2 separate regions of the Homo sapiens genome follow, and region 1 is linked to region 2. The links are contacts of gene promoters, found by promoter capture Hi-C in blood cells and fetal thymus (Javierre and others, 2016). All regions are on one chromosome and are shown on one strand. The core of a region is centred on a gene start or on the middle of the fragment in contact, and the rest is flanking DNA. Distances in the headings are between cores, read along the strand shown. Region 1 overlaps CAMTA1 (calmodulin binding transcription activator 1). Region 2 holds the start of PHF13 (PHD finger protein 13).

Region 1 (6,385 bases), core at 2,142-4,641, 190 kb after region 2:
TATAATTTCTATAAAAGAATCTATTTGCAAGTGATAATGAAGAAAGGAATTTTTTTTTTTTTTTTTGAGACAAAGTCTTGCTCTTGTCCCCCAGGCTGCAGTGCGATGGCGCGATCTTGGTTCATTGCAACCTCCGCCGCCTTGGTTCAAGCGATTCTCCTGCCTCGCCCCCCAAGTAGCTAGGATTACAGGTGCTGAACACCACGCTGGGCTAATTTTTGTATTTTTAGTTGAGACACCATGTTGGCCAGGCTGGTCTTGAACTCCTGACCTCAGGTGATTCACCCACCTCGGCCTCCCAAAGTGCTGGGATTACAGGTGTGAGCTACCGCACCCAGCCTAAAAAAGGAATATTTAATGGTAGAGGGCTCTGTAAAAACCCCCTAATTTTCAAAGCCATGTGCCACTGTAGAATTTATGAAAAGTTATGGGCTATTATTATTAGGTTTCAAAAAGTCTGGAATACTGGCGGTAGCATCAGAATTATTTATTTATTTATCTTTTGAGACAGAGTCTATCTCTGTCGCCCAGGCTAGAGTGCAGTGATGCAAGCTCCACTTCTCGAGTTCACGCCATTCTCCTGCCTCAGCCTCTTGGGTAGCTGGGACCACAGGCGCCCACCACCACACCTGGCTAATTTTTTTTTTTTTTTTTTTTTTTGAGACGGAGTCTCGCTCTGTCGCCCAGGCCGGACTGCGGACTGCAGTGGCGCAATCTCGGCTCACTGCAAGCTCCGCTTCCCGGGTTCACGCCATTCTCCTGCCTCAGCCTCCCGAGTAGCTGGGACTACAGGCGCCCGCCACCGCGCCCGGCTAATTTTTTGTATTTTTAGTAGAGACGGGGTTTCACCTTGTTAGCCAGGATGGTCTCTATCTCCTGACCTCATGATCCGTCCGCCTCTGCCTCCCAAAGTGCTCGGATTACAGACGTTAGCCTCCACCTCCACGCCTGGCTAAAGCGTTATCATTTTTATCTAACCCTGAACCAATCAGTGATTGGTTAGTTCTCTAGCTGTGAAGGCTTTGCACTTCCTAGACAGCTTGTAGAACAAGCCCACTTGGATTCCCAGCTCAAACTCTTTCCTTTTTACTATTTATTTATTATTTATTTATTCGTTACTTATTATTAATTAAAAAAATTTTTTAGAGACAAGAGTCTTGATCTGTCACCCAGGCTAGAGTGCCATCACAGCTCACTGCAACCTTGAACTCTTGGGTTCAAGTGATCCTCCTGCCTCAGCCTCCTGAGTAGTGAGGACTACGGGCGTGTGCCACCACACCCGGCTAATTCTTTTTTAATTTTATGGAGAAAGGGTCTTGCTATGTTGCGCAGGCTTGTCTTGTACTCCTGGCCTCAAGCAGTCATCCTGTCTCAGCCTCCCAAAGTGCCAGGCTTACAGGCATGAGCCGCTGTGCCTGGCTTGTACTCTTTCACTAGCTGGGAATGCTGGTGAGCAGGACTCAAGGATCCCAGCAGAGCTGCATCCTGTGCTGTCTTTGCTGCCACTTAGGTGGACCAGGAGCTAGAAGCCTTTCTCTCCATGGCCTCCATACCTTCTTTTACCAGATGGTATTTCTGCATTTATCACTCTTGATTCCAGCACAGCTTTTCCTCATCTTGCTTTTCTCAGACCTCAGCTCTTATGTAATGAGATAGTTGGTAGTCATTTTGAGGGGATTCATGTGTTGGGTAAAGGGTTTTCCTAGCGATGACCTCGAAAGTTCCTTCCCATTAATAATAATTACTATTAATAATTAATAGCAATAACTAATGATAAAACAGAACAGTTGCAGCAATATACTGTAATAAAAGTTGTGTGAATGTGGTCTCTCTCTCTCTCTGATTATCTTATTGTACCATACTCACCTATTTTTGGACCTTAGTTGACCGCTTGTAACTGAAACCATGGATAAGAGGGGGACTATTGTGTAAGGAAATGAAGTCGGAGATATGGAATTTCATTTCAGGGCTTGCTTTCCTGATATTCAGCTATTCTGTATAACTGTATCTTTTCCTTTTGAGGTCCTTGCTCCAGGACAAGAATAATATGTTGACTCAAGCTGTATGGGGGGATTTGAACTACAGACACTCAGATATCTCCTTTCTGAGGTACATAGAGGGCTTAATTTTTTAGGTCTGTCTGTTTAATATACTATATTTACTTTAAAAAACGTAGGCCGGGTGCTGTGGCTCGGTGCCTATAATCTAAGCACTTTGGGAGGCCGAGACGGGAGGATTGCTTTAGCCCTGGAGTTCGAGACCAGCCTGGGCAACATAGTGAGACCTTGTCTCTACTAAAAATAGAAAAAATTAGCCAGATGTGTTGGTGTGCGCCTGTGATCCCAGGTACCTGGGAGGCTGAGGTTGGAGGATTACTTGAGCCCTTGAGGTCAAGGCTGCAGTGAGCTACGATCACGCCACTGCACTCCAGTCTGGATGACAGAGTGAGATCCTGTCTCAAAACAAACAAAATGTAAAAAAATTTAAATTTATTAAAAAAGATGTACAACACCAAAATGTTCATAGTTATTCTGTATGACAGATCTGAGGTCTTTGTTCAGACATAGATGAGGGTTCATAGTTTTGGAAAATAGACTTAAATAATATATGATTACAGATGAAAAATATTTGCTAACCTCAGACTTTTTATGTTTAAGGTAGTATTTATATTCATTTAGTTGTACTTTCTGGAGTTGATTAATATAACTGTTATTAAAATCTATCGATTCCCAGTAATTCAGTAAATGAAGACTCTTCCTATTTAGAAACTCGTGTGGATTGGGGAGTTGCTGTGGGCCCACTGTCATTGATCATATCACATCTTCACTTGAACCTGCTCCCTGGGCCTCCTATAGGCCTCGCGTTTGGAGAGGCCGTGAACATAATTTATTTTTGGAAGTTTCTTTCATTTTTAAAGATACTGAGAGGCAAGTTGAAGTTCCTGGTGTTCGTGTAAACATTCCCTGCCTTATCCTTTCCATCTCAGCCATTATGAAATGTTCTGGCTGAATCATTTGCTTTCACAAAGCTTTGATGAAAGTTTCTTCCTCATTTGGTTTTCTTGATAGAGGCTGTTGTGCTAAAAAGAAAGCTATAACAAGTTAGAAGGGTGGAGAGTGGGCACTTAACATTTTTGAAGTACTTGTCTTTCTTCCTAGGGGTCCTCCAGAAATTGATCATAGATAACTTGACCAAATTCAAGGCCCAGAGATTTCTTCCAGGCATTCTGGGAGGGAAGGAACATCAGGCTTTCTGTACTGAATCTAATTATTCTAAATATTTCCCACTGCAGCTTGTATGAGTGTTTTCTGATGCAAATATGGTGATAGTGGCGACCTCTCTAACTGGGCTAAATATCCTTGACAGCTTTTTATCTGTCCTCTCCAAGTATTTTTAGTCTCTTTAGCTTCTGTGGCCATGTCTGGAGGAACTGAGGATGGATTTAGCTGCTCTGGTGCTGCTCCAAGTTGTTGTGGGTGCTCTTTGCTACCTTCGTCACTGTCCTGCCACAGTCCTGCCACTGATGAGGCTCCTGGCCCTTGTCATTTGATGAGGGAACATAAACACTTGTTTAATAAAAATAAAAAAGTCATGATTTTCAGAATGCTTTGAAAATAAGCTATGGCTAATGGTGATACACAATAGGAATGTCCCTAATTTCACTAAATTGTATGCTCAAAAAGGGTTAAAGTGGTAAATTTTATGTTATGCATATTTTGCCACAATTAAAAAAATAAAAACTTCAAATGGATTTGAAGCTTAATGAGAAAACTAGTTATAATGTCCTAACAGTAAATATATGGCCAATATTTTCATGACCCCAAGGTGGGAGGCTGTGCCTTAAATAAACTGTCAGAATCACACATTAAAAAAAAAAAAAAGTGATGGTAATCAGGCCCTGAGGTTCATTTATACAGAAAGTGATTTTTAGGTGAGATTTTAATATTTGCAATATTTATATTTGTAAAGAGGATTGGCTAGCTCATTCAGAAAAGTCTGAGGTTCTTAATAAACACTAGGAAACAGATGGTTTGGGGTTGATGTCAGGGAAGGTAAGCAGGCCGTGCTTTAGATTAGAGCACTTTTGATTGCAAGTCCCATGAGCCACACAGTTTAGGCCAAGTGAAAGCAGTTTTAGTCTAAGAAGAGCAGAAGCAATCGTAGCCTCTCGGGACAGAAACTGAAGTGCAGCTGGGCAGTGGGAACTGGATCTGGAGAGTCTGGAGTACATGTCTTCTCTGGAGCTGGGCTTTTTCCATTCACATGTAGCTTCCTTGCTTGAGTTACATGTAGTGGCCTTAGTCATGGCTCCTGCATGTCCTGACTCTAGTTCCAGTACTCATCATCATCTGACTCCCATTTCTATGGCTCAGTACAAAAATATTCAAGACTGGGTATTGGACTGACTCCTCTCAGCCATTTGCTTTGTTTCCATAGGCCAGGTGATCATCTCACTCTGGTCGACTATGAAAGAAGGTTGGTTAGATCCAGCAGCCTGCTGATCATTTAGAGGGTCTTAGAGTGAGAGGAGATTGTGTGAGAAGCTGGTTATCATAGCAGGGGGTCCTGGCACCTCAAACTCTGTCCCCATCAAACAGTGTAAAAGAAAAGATATTGACTCCTAAAGGAGTGTCTTATGTTCAGATGCTATAGAGTTTTGCAGAGAAAGTGTTCAGTGTAGCTACAGATAGAAGGCCAAGTGTCCTTGGTCAGCCAGCCTGGGTGTGTGTGGAGTAAGTTAGTGGTAGGTGTAGTAACTGTCTCAAAGCTTTTTCTTTGTCTCTCTCTCTCTCTTTTTTTTTTTTGAGACAAGGTCTTATTCTGTCGCCCAGGCTGGAGTGCAGTAGCACAATTTCAGCTCACTGAAGCCTCGACAGCCTGGGCTCAAGTGATCCTCCCACCTCAGCCCCCCAAGCTGAGGACTTAGCTGGAAAACACAGGCATATGCCACAACGCCCGGCTGATTTTTATGTTTTTAGTAGAGACAGGGGTTTCATTATGTTGCCTAGGCTGGTCTTGAACTCTTGGCCAGCTCAAGCAATCCACCTGCCTCAGTCTCTCAAAGGGCTGGGATTACAGGCGTGAGCCACCGTGCCCGGCCCCAGAACTTTTTCTTTGAATAGTGGAGAAGCAGAACACCTTGGAATGCTATGGTCTGTGCGGTCTTTGCCCTGTGGGTGTTCTCAGGTGGAATCAGGCAGTTTGGGTGATGTCAGTATCATTTGAGGTCTTCCACAGTTCAGCTATTTGGGTGGGCTTCCCCACTTTTCCCCTTGTTTTGGGTCGGTAAACATAAAAGGATGGAGATGTGTATCCTTAGTAAGAATGGGAGACGTTGCCTTCAGAATGGGTAGAAAGCAGAAAACAAGCGGGGAAGAAAACAGAAAACAGCCTCTCTTTAAGTGTATGTGGCTGCCTGTGTGCACAGTCCTTCACCTTTTCCTTAGTATATCCCTCCTGCCTCTGATCTCTTGTTGTTCTTGATTTTTCATGGTAGAAGGAGGAAACAAAATTATAGAAGACAGGTGGAATACTGTGAAAGAATAGTAGTTTGGAGATAACTATGTAAAGGGCTACTAGCCTGCGCACCGTTGAATTCTCTGAATTTACAGCTGTTTAGTCATTGATGTTTCATAGTGTTGACCTTGAGTAAATTCAGAAAAGCAATACTGAGTATGTTCTGCTAAACAAAAGAGGAAAGTGTATGTTTTTAAAGAAACAACCTTCACAGTGGTTTCAGTAGTTACAGGGATTTGGTTCTTTTTTAAATTATTTTATTTCTTTTTAAAGATGGTCTCACTCTGTCATCCAGGCTGGAGTGCAGAGGTGTGATCGTAGCTCACTGGCACCTTGAATTCCTGGACTCAAGTGATCCTCCTGCCTCAGACTCCCAAGTGGTTAGGAGTACAGGCATGTATCACCATGCCTAGCTGATTAAAATTTTTTTTTTTTTGGCCAGGCATGGTGGCTCACGCCTGTAATCCCAGCACTTTGGGAGGCTGAGGCGGGTGGATCTCCTGAGGTCAGGAGTTCCAGACCAGCTTGGCCAACATGGGTGAAACCCCTTCTCTACTAAAAAAAATACAAAAAGCTGGGCATGGTGGCGGGTGCCAGTAATCCTAGCTACTTGGGAGGCTGAGGCAGGAGAATCAGTTGAACCCGGGAGGCAGAGGTTGCAGTGTGTCGAGATTGTGCCATCGCACTCCAGCCTGGGAAACGAGCGAAACTCTTTTTTTTTTTTTTTTTTTTTGGTAAAGACAGGGTCTCAATATGTTGCCCAGGCTGATCTTAAACTCCTGGCCTCAAGTGATCCTCCAGCCTTGGCCTCCCGAAGTGCTGGGATTGCAGGTATAAGCCACTGTGCCCAGCCTGATTTGTTTTTTAA
Region 2 (7,172 bases), core at 2,751-5,250:
GATCTGGCTACTGTGGTGAATGTTCTTGAACTAATCAAGGAATTTCAGATTCGCCCCCTGCAGCCCAGGAGTAGTACAATACACCTATGAAAAAAACGGGAGATACTGAACAAACCTAATCCTGTCACAGAAAATCAACTGTGTTTTTTGAGACGGAGTCTGACTCTGTCGCCAGGCTGCAGTGCAGTGGCATGATCTCCGCTCACTGCAACCTCTGCCTTCCGGGTTCACGCCATTCTCCTGCCTCAGCCTCCGGAGTAGCTGGGACTACAGATGCGTGCCACCACACCCAGATAATTTTTGTATTTTTAGTACAGACAGGGTTTCAACATGTTGGACAGGATGGTCTTGATCTCTTGACCTCGTGATTCGCCCGCCTCGGCCTCCCAAAGTGCTGGGATTACAGGCGTGAGAAAATCAACTTTATTACTCCACAGCTACATATTATGAGATCGTTTGGGTCAACTACAAGTGGTATAGTCCTTTTTCTGAATTTAGGGAAAGGATGCTAAACATTAATGTCTAAATTTCCTCCAAAGGGCTGTATTTCTAAGGGAAATGGAAAGACAAAAGAGGTCCTTTTTCTTGAAGTTTTCTCTTTCACTGGAGTAGCAGGAAGGTACAGGTCATATCTATGTACTAAAAATTACTGTTTACTAAAAACATATTCAATAAATATCTGGGTGCGGTGGCTTATGCCTGTAATCCCAGCACTTTGGGAGGCTGAGACAGGCAGATCACATGAGGCCAAGAGTTCAAGACCAGCCTGTCCAACATGGTGAAACCCCGTCTCTACTAAAAATACAAAAAATTAGCCGGGTGTTGTGGCGCATGCCTGTAATCCCAGCTCTCAGGAGGCTGAGGCAGGAGAATCGCTTGAACCCGGGAGATAGAGGTTGTGGTGAACCAGGATCACACCACTGTACTCCAGCAGGGGCAACAAGAGTGAAACTGTCTCAAAAAAGAAAGAAGAATAAACTCTCAAATTGGAAATGAAGGACCTACTCAGAATAATGGACTTGTTGACAAAACTGAGCTTAGAATTCACAGGCCTATATTGGACTACTTGGTTACATCAAGGAAGGAAAATCCCAAACATGGATTGAGTCAGGGGACAGATTTTCAGACTCAAGTGATAACTTTTGCTCAGAGTGGGTATTCACTCCAGGCAGGCAAGATAGCTCAGGACTGTAAACTCTACAATTTGGGAGGCCTGGGTGGGAGGATCCCTTGAGCCCAGGAGTTCCAGAACAGCCTTGGCAACATACGGAGACCCTGTCTTAAAAAAAAAAAAATTAGGCCTGGCATGGTGGCTCACGCCTGTTAATCCCAGCACTTTGGGGGAGGCTGAGGCGGGTGGCCATTCTTTCTTTTTTTGAGATGGAGTTTCGCTCTTGTTGCCCAGGCTGGAGTGCAATGGCGTGATCTCGGCTCACTGCAACCTCCACCTCCCTGACCCATGTCGGTCAGGCTGGTCTCGAACTCCTGACCTCAGGTGATCTGCCTGCCTCGGCCTCCCAAAGTGCTAGGATTACAGGTGTGAGCCACCGTGCCTGGCCCGATAATTTCTTAATATGTGTGTGTGTGGGAAAGGATTTAATGTTTATTATGTGACACATTTACCACAGGGGATAATAATGAGGTGTAAAAAAAAAAATCCCTCTTCTTTCACTTGGGTTTCACCTCTAATAATTATTCTTGGCCAGGCGCGGTGGCTCACGCCTGTAATCCCTGCACTTTGGGAGGCCTAGGTGTGCGGATCACGAGGTCAAGAGATCAAGACCATCTGGCCAACATGGTGAAACCCTGTCTGTACTAAAAATACAAAAACTAGCTGGGCGTGGTGGTGGGCGCTGGTAGTCCAGGCTACTTGGGAGGCTGAGGCAGGAGAATCGCTTGAACCCGGGAGGTGGAGGTTGCAGTGAGCTGAGATGGCGCCACTGTACTCCAGCCTGGCGACAGAGGGAGATTCTGTCTCCAAAAAAAAAAAGAATTATTCTTTTTGGTATTTACATTTTTAAACTACCAACGGGATCAACACCTTAGCAGTGTTTCTTATTCTGGCAAAACGAGTTGCTCCTTGTGAATATGACCTTGGGCAATACAGGCTAACTTCGGGGCATCTGCTTTGGTCACAGTAACCAGGTAACATTCCAAATCTGGCTAAATCATCTGTGCAATTGTATAAGAAGTTGTTAATCAAGTCTCGATGGGCCAAGTCCAATGTCTCTGTTTTAATCAGTAATTTCATGTTTTATCTTGTAAAGTACCTCAATTTATCACCTTTGGGAAGCCCTCCAATGGGCTACAATATTGCAGAAATAATAAAACAACAACAACAACAACAACAGTAAGCTACCATTTATTTAGCCAGGCACTACGCTAAAATTTAACAGCTTAGGAAACTGAGGCTCAGAGAAGTATTTTTTTTTTTTTTTTTGAGACAGAGTCTCGCTCTGTCGCCCAGGCTGGAGTGCAGTGGCACGATCTCGGCTCACTGCAAGCTCCGCCTCCCGGGTTCAAGCAATTCTCCCGCCTCAGCCTCCCGAGTAGCTGGGATTACAGGTGTCCGCCACCACGCCCATCTAATTTTTGTATTTTTAGTAAAGACGGGGTTTCACCATGTTGGTCAGGCTGGTTTCGAACTCCTGACCTCGTGATCCACCCGCCTCGGCCTCCCAAAGTGCTGGGAATACAGGCGCGAGCCACCGCGCCCGGCCGCTCAGAGAAGTATTTCTAAGATTAACACCATCTCCTAACTATTAAATATCTTCATCAGAATGATCATAACCCTTGAAATAGCAACAGCCAGCTTGATGGAGCATTCGGCGCCTGTCAAATATCTTACTAGTATCTCCAAGAGTTCGTTTTCTAATTTGAATTTTCAATTTTGTGTCACTCCCCTTTAACTTCTTCGAAGCTACCAAACAGGTTACTGAATCATCTGCGTTTTGTACTTACCTTTTTCCCCCACTTTCGAATATTAAAAATGTTCCCGTCAGACCGCCTTTTGGTCACCGCATAGGGGCAGTCCCCACCGTGTCCGGCCAGCCTTCCACACGTACAGCTGTCGGATACTCTGCGGTCCAGCGTTTACACACTGCCCATCCCAGTTAAACACCACTAAACAAGTACCAGTCGATGCCAGCGCCAAACACCGCGTCTCCGCCTCGCCCTGCGGGCCGGAGGATATTCAGGAGAGTGGGAAAACGGCCGGTCCCAAGGTTAGGCTTAGGCGGCAACAGAAAGCAAACTGAACGCACACCTCTTTAGAACACTGACAACGCTGGCCCGGTGTTTTTAATGCACGAACCCGGCCACCTCGAGTGAATCCCGCAGATGCCTAGAGAAGAGCCCGGTCCAGTCCCGGCCCCGCGGGCCCGGAGCAGGGAGCCGCACGAAGCCCGCAGCCGCGAAAACAACTTCGCTGAGCCCGGCCTGGAGCGGGGGCCGGGCGGCGACTCCGCCCTCAGCGGGGAGCGGGGAGCGGGGAGCGATGCCCGGGGCGGCCGCGACGTCAGCGTCCCCGCCCCTGCCGCCCCTACTCCCGGCCAGGCCTCGGGGACCCCCGCCCCACAAAGGGGCGCGAACCCCAAGTAGGAGACGAGGAAGGGTAGGTGCCAGCCGCCGCCGCCCTTCGCAACCCGGGCCGTCAGCCCCGCCCCCACCGCCGCAGCGACTCCCGCCCCCGCGCCCGCCGAGACCAAGGCGCTACCGCTCACACTGCCCCTCCCCCCGCGGCCGAGCCGGCGCGGGCCCCCGCACCTCCCCCGCTCGCGCGGCCTCGAGTCCAGAAGACCCGCCTCCACACACCGGGGCCGCCGCCGCGGAGCCTCATGGGGGTTGGAGTCCCCAAGGTTTCCTTTGTGCGCAGTATTGGCGGGGCCTTGGACTACCACTCCCACAAGGCACCGCGCCCGCCTCCCGCGCCACGCCCCCTCGCCGCTGGCTTCCAGTCGCCACCCAGACTACATTTCCCGACAGGCCTCCCGGCTCTCCCGCCCTCCCTCCCGAGACACGAGCCGAACTGGGCGTCAGGTCGGGGAGCCGGTCGGGTTCCCGCTCACCGCCGCCGCCGCCGCCCCCTGCAGCCACTCTCCCGCCTCTACCGCCGCGGGAGCTGCATCGTCCACTCCGGTCGGCGGTGGAACCGCCAGTCCGGGGTCACAGAGCTTGAGAAGCGACGCGCTGAGCCCCCCATCACCTCCAGCCCGGGCGACCCCTCCCGGGTCCGCCCTCGCCCTGCGCAGCCGCCCGAGCCCCCAGCCCCGGGCGGCCCCGCTCCAGCATCCCAGCTCCTGCACTCTCGCAGCCGCCGCCGCCCCCCGCCCGGAACATGGACTCTGACTCTTGCGCCGCCGCCTTCCACCCGGAGGTGAGTGAAGCTGTGCGTCCGAATCGCCCCCGACCACCCCCTCCGCGATCCTGCCGTCCTCAGGCAGCCAGACCCCCGGTCGCCCGGAGCGCCGCCCTCCCCTTCCCCCGCTTTCCCCTCGTCGGCCCCCCCGGGAGCCCAACCCCCGCCCCCTGCTCGGGCCCGCGCTCGGTCCTCTCCGCCGGGCCTCGCCTCCGCGTCCCCTCCGCGGACCTCCGCGTCCTCCCCGCGCCCTTTCCCCAGGGCCGTTGCGCCTATTTCTCTCCCCCGGGCCGCCCCTCTCCGGCCTCGCGTCGACCTGGGACCTGTCGGCGCCCCCAGCCCCTCCCCGCCGGCCTGCTTACTCTTTCCCCGCCCCCGGGGACGCGGTCCGAGCCGCCGCCCGCCCCTGGCTCCGGTTGCTCTCGAGGAGTTTTAGGCCCCCCTCGGACCGGGGTCGGCTCCCGAGGCCCCCGGCTGCTCCCCCGATCCCCCGGGCCCGGTGGCCCGCGCCCCGCCCCCTGACTCCGCGCGGGGCCCAGTCGGCCCCCGCCCCCTACGGCTCTCGGGGGCCGCGTCCTCCGGGGGCCCCACCCGCTCTGGGGACCCGAGTCCTGCCCCCACCCACCGCCCCCCGGCGCGCTGGCCTCTCTCTTCGGGCCCCCGCCCCCCGCCCGCGGGCTTTGCTGGCTCCGCCCCGGCTCACTCCCCCTCCTTCCGGGGATCGGCCCTCGGGGCTCCCGGCCTCCCCCCCGCGCGGTCCCCTCCCCCCAGCCGAGGCTCGTTGGGGTCGGGGGTGCGGGTCCGGCGACCGCGGGCGGGTGGGGGAGGGGAGGCGGCGCCGGAGCCCGCCGGTCTCGCTGCCGCCCCCGGGGGTTCGCAGGGCCTCCCCAGGCCTGGGACCCCGGAATCCTGCCTGGCGCACCCCCCTCACACATACTCGCGGGATGGGCCCCGCACCTTCGGGGGCCGAGTGTCGCGGGGGGCGGCTGCCGCGGGAGGGCGGGTGGGGGCCGCTCCGCCATCTGCTTTCCGAGGAGGCGGCCGGGGGGGCGGGCGGCGTGGGCCGTGTGGGGGCGGCGTGGAACCCCCAGTCCCCGCGCCGGTGCCTCCCGCGCGCCCCCGGCCCGAGGCCGTCGCCGCCCTCCACTTGGCATTCGGGTTTTTGACCCACTTCTGCTGGTTCCCCGCCGAAAGAAAAGTTCTTCGCGGGAGTTGGAGGCCCGGGTGGCGGCCCGCGGTTCCCGTGGCTGGGCAGGCTCGCCAGTGCGGGGAGCGCGGTCAACGCGGGCCTTCGCCTCCGCTCCGTGGGCGGCCCTGGGGTCCAAGGGGGTGGGAGAGGAGAAGGTTTGCTTGAACCAGGTTGAGAAAATAATTTTCTAAGGGCACCGACTTTCTCGAAAGAAAACCCGCGGGCCGCACGCCTGCTCCTCGCGGCGGGAGGGGCGGCCCGAGACCCCTGCCCCCCATTTCCCCACCGGCTCTCCCCCAGCAGAGTGGCGGCCGGGTAACAGCACCTCGGGAAGGATGGGGGTGGGTCGGACAAGGCACTGAAAGGAACCTCAGGGAACGTGCCGGGCGAATAAACAGCAATACGGCACACTTGTTTTGCTTAGGAGCAAATAAGAGCTCCATCTCTCCGTGCTTCTCTCAGGAGAAAATATCTTTTTGTGATGGGTGTTTCTAGATGGAATGGGGCTGGGACCCGCGAGCAAAAACCTCCACTATTCCGTTTAAATGTAAGACTAAGCTTCGCAGTAAGGTTCTTGGTTTATTGTGAGTTGAGATAGTTGGGTGCCTGGCATCCCGACTGGCTGGGACAGTGGAGGGGACCCTCTGAGCACGAGAGAGGGGTCCTCAGGTGGCGCTAGCTTGGCAGGGTCAGCCAGGAGTGAACTCCAGGGTCCAGGTCTCCGAGAGCTCTGGAGAATGAGTGGTTGATTTTTTTTTTTTTTTTTTTTTGAGTTGGAATCTTAGCTCTGTCTACCGGGCTGGAGTGCAGTGGCGCGATCTTGGCTCACTGTAACCTCCGCCTCCGGGTTCACGCGATTCTCCTGCCTCAGCCTCCTGAGTAGTTGGGACTACAGGTGCACGCCACCACGCCCGGCTAATTTTTGTATTTTTAGTAGAGACGGGGTTTCACCATGTTGGTCAGGCTGGTCTCGAACTCCTGACCTCGTGATCCGCCCGCCTCGGCCTCCCAAAGTGCTGGGATTACAGACGAGAGCCACCGCGCCCGGCGAGTGGTTGATTTTTGAAATCACTTAACATACATCAGTTCCAGCTGCTGCTGCAGCAGTTCATACTCAGAATGGAAAATCTGTAGCAAAAAAGTAGTTATTAGAGCTTCGCCTGATAGGCCTGTGGAAACTAATAGATAAAGTCAGAAAATGCCACATGAGCACTAAGAAATAGACTTTTGTAGAAGTTTTTATCTCCCAGCTGATTTCCCAGCATTCTTGGCATAAAGTCTTAATACTCCTCTTTCTGCTCTCTGAAAATAGTGTTATTTCTTGACCTGAACTTACCGTATCTTGTTTGTGGACTGTGTAAATCTAACGGTATTTTTTGAGTGATTGACTACAAAAGTTCCAGCTTACTTCCTTTTGTTTCTGTGATTCCGCCTGGAAGCCTCTCCTTCAAACACATTCCCTTTTCTCTCCCCTTAATAGGAATACTCCCCCAGTTGCAAGAGGCGCAGGACCGTGGAAGACTTCAACAAATTCTGCACCTTTGTCTTGGCCTATGCTGGCTACATCCCTTATCCGAAGGAGGTAATCTTCTGAGTTTCTGAGACCTTTCTTGATGAGTAGTCAAA

What was found. Contacts are between HindIII fragments. The CHiCAGO score rates a contact against its expected background, and 5 or more counts as called.
Region 1: a contact is called between a fragment that was not itself captured here and the fragment with the promoter of PHF13 in region 2, in 1 of 17 cell types (neutrophils). The highest score is 5.8, in neutrophils.

Annotation. Positions count from the first base shown.
Region 1 is chr1:6,797,948-6,804,332 of GRCh38, forward strand. The region is part of intron 1 of CAMTA1 (calmodulin binding transcription activator 1); the gene reads left to right. Among named protein-coding and RNA genes, the nearest start is that of CAMTA1, 16 kb to the left of the region's middle. The HindIII fragment of the contact is 730 bases long and covers 3,027-3,756 here.
Region 2 is chr1:6,609,731-6,616,902 of GRCh38, forward strand. PHF13 (PHD finger protein 13) reads left to right here and starts at 4,001. Exons shown (of 4, transcript NM_153812.3): 1 at 4,001-4,375; 2 at 7,027-7,128. The coding sequence starts at 4,337. LOC107984913 (a long non-coding RNA gene) reads right to left here and starts at 3,657. Exons shown (of 2, transcript XR_001737882.3): 1 at 2,962-3,657. RefSeq lists silencers at 3,450-3,499, 3,550-4,329, 4,500-4,589, 4,730-5,189. The HindIII fragment of the contact is 6,383 bases long and covers 1-6,102 here.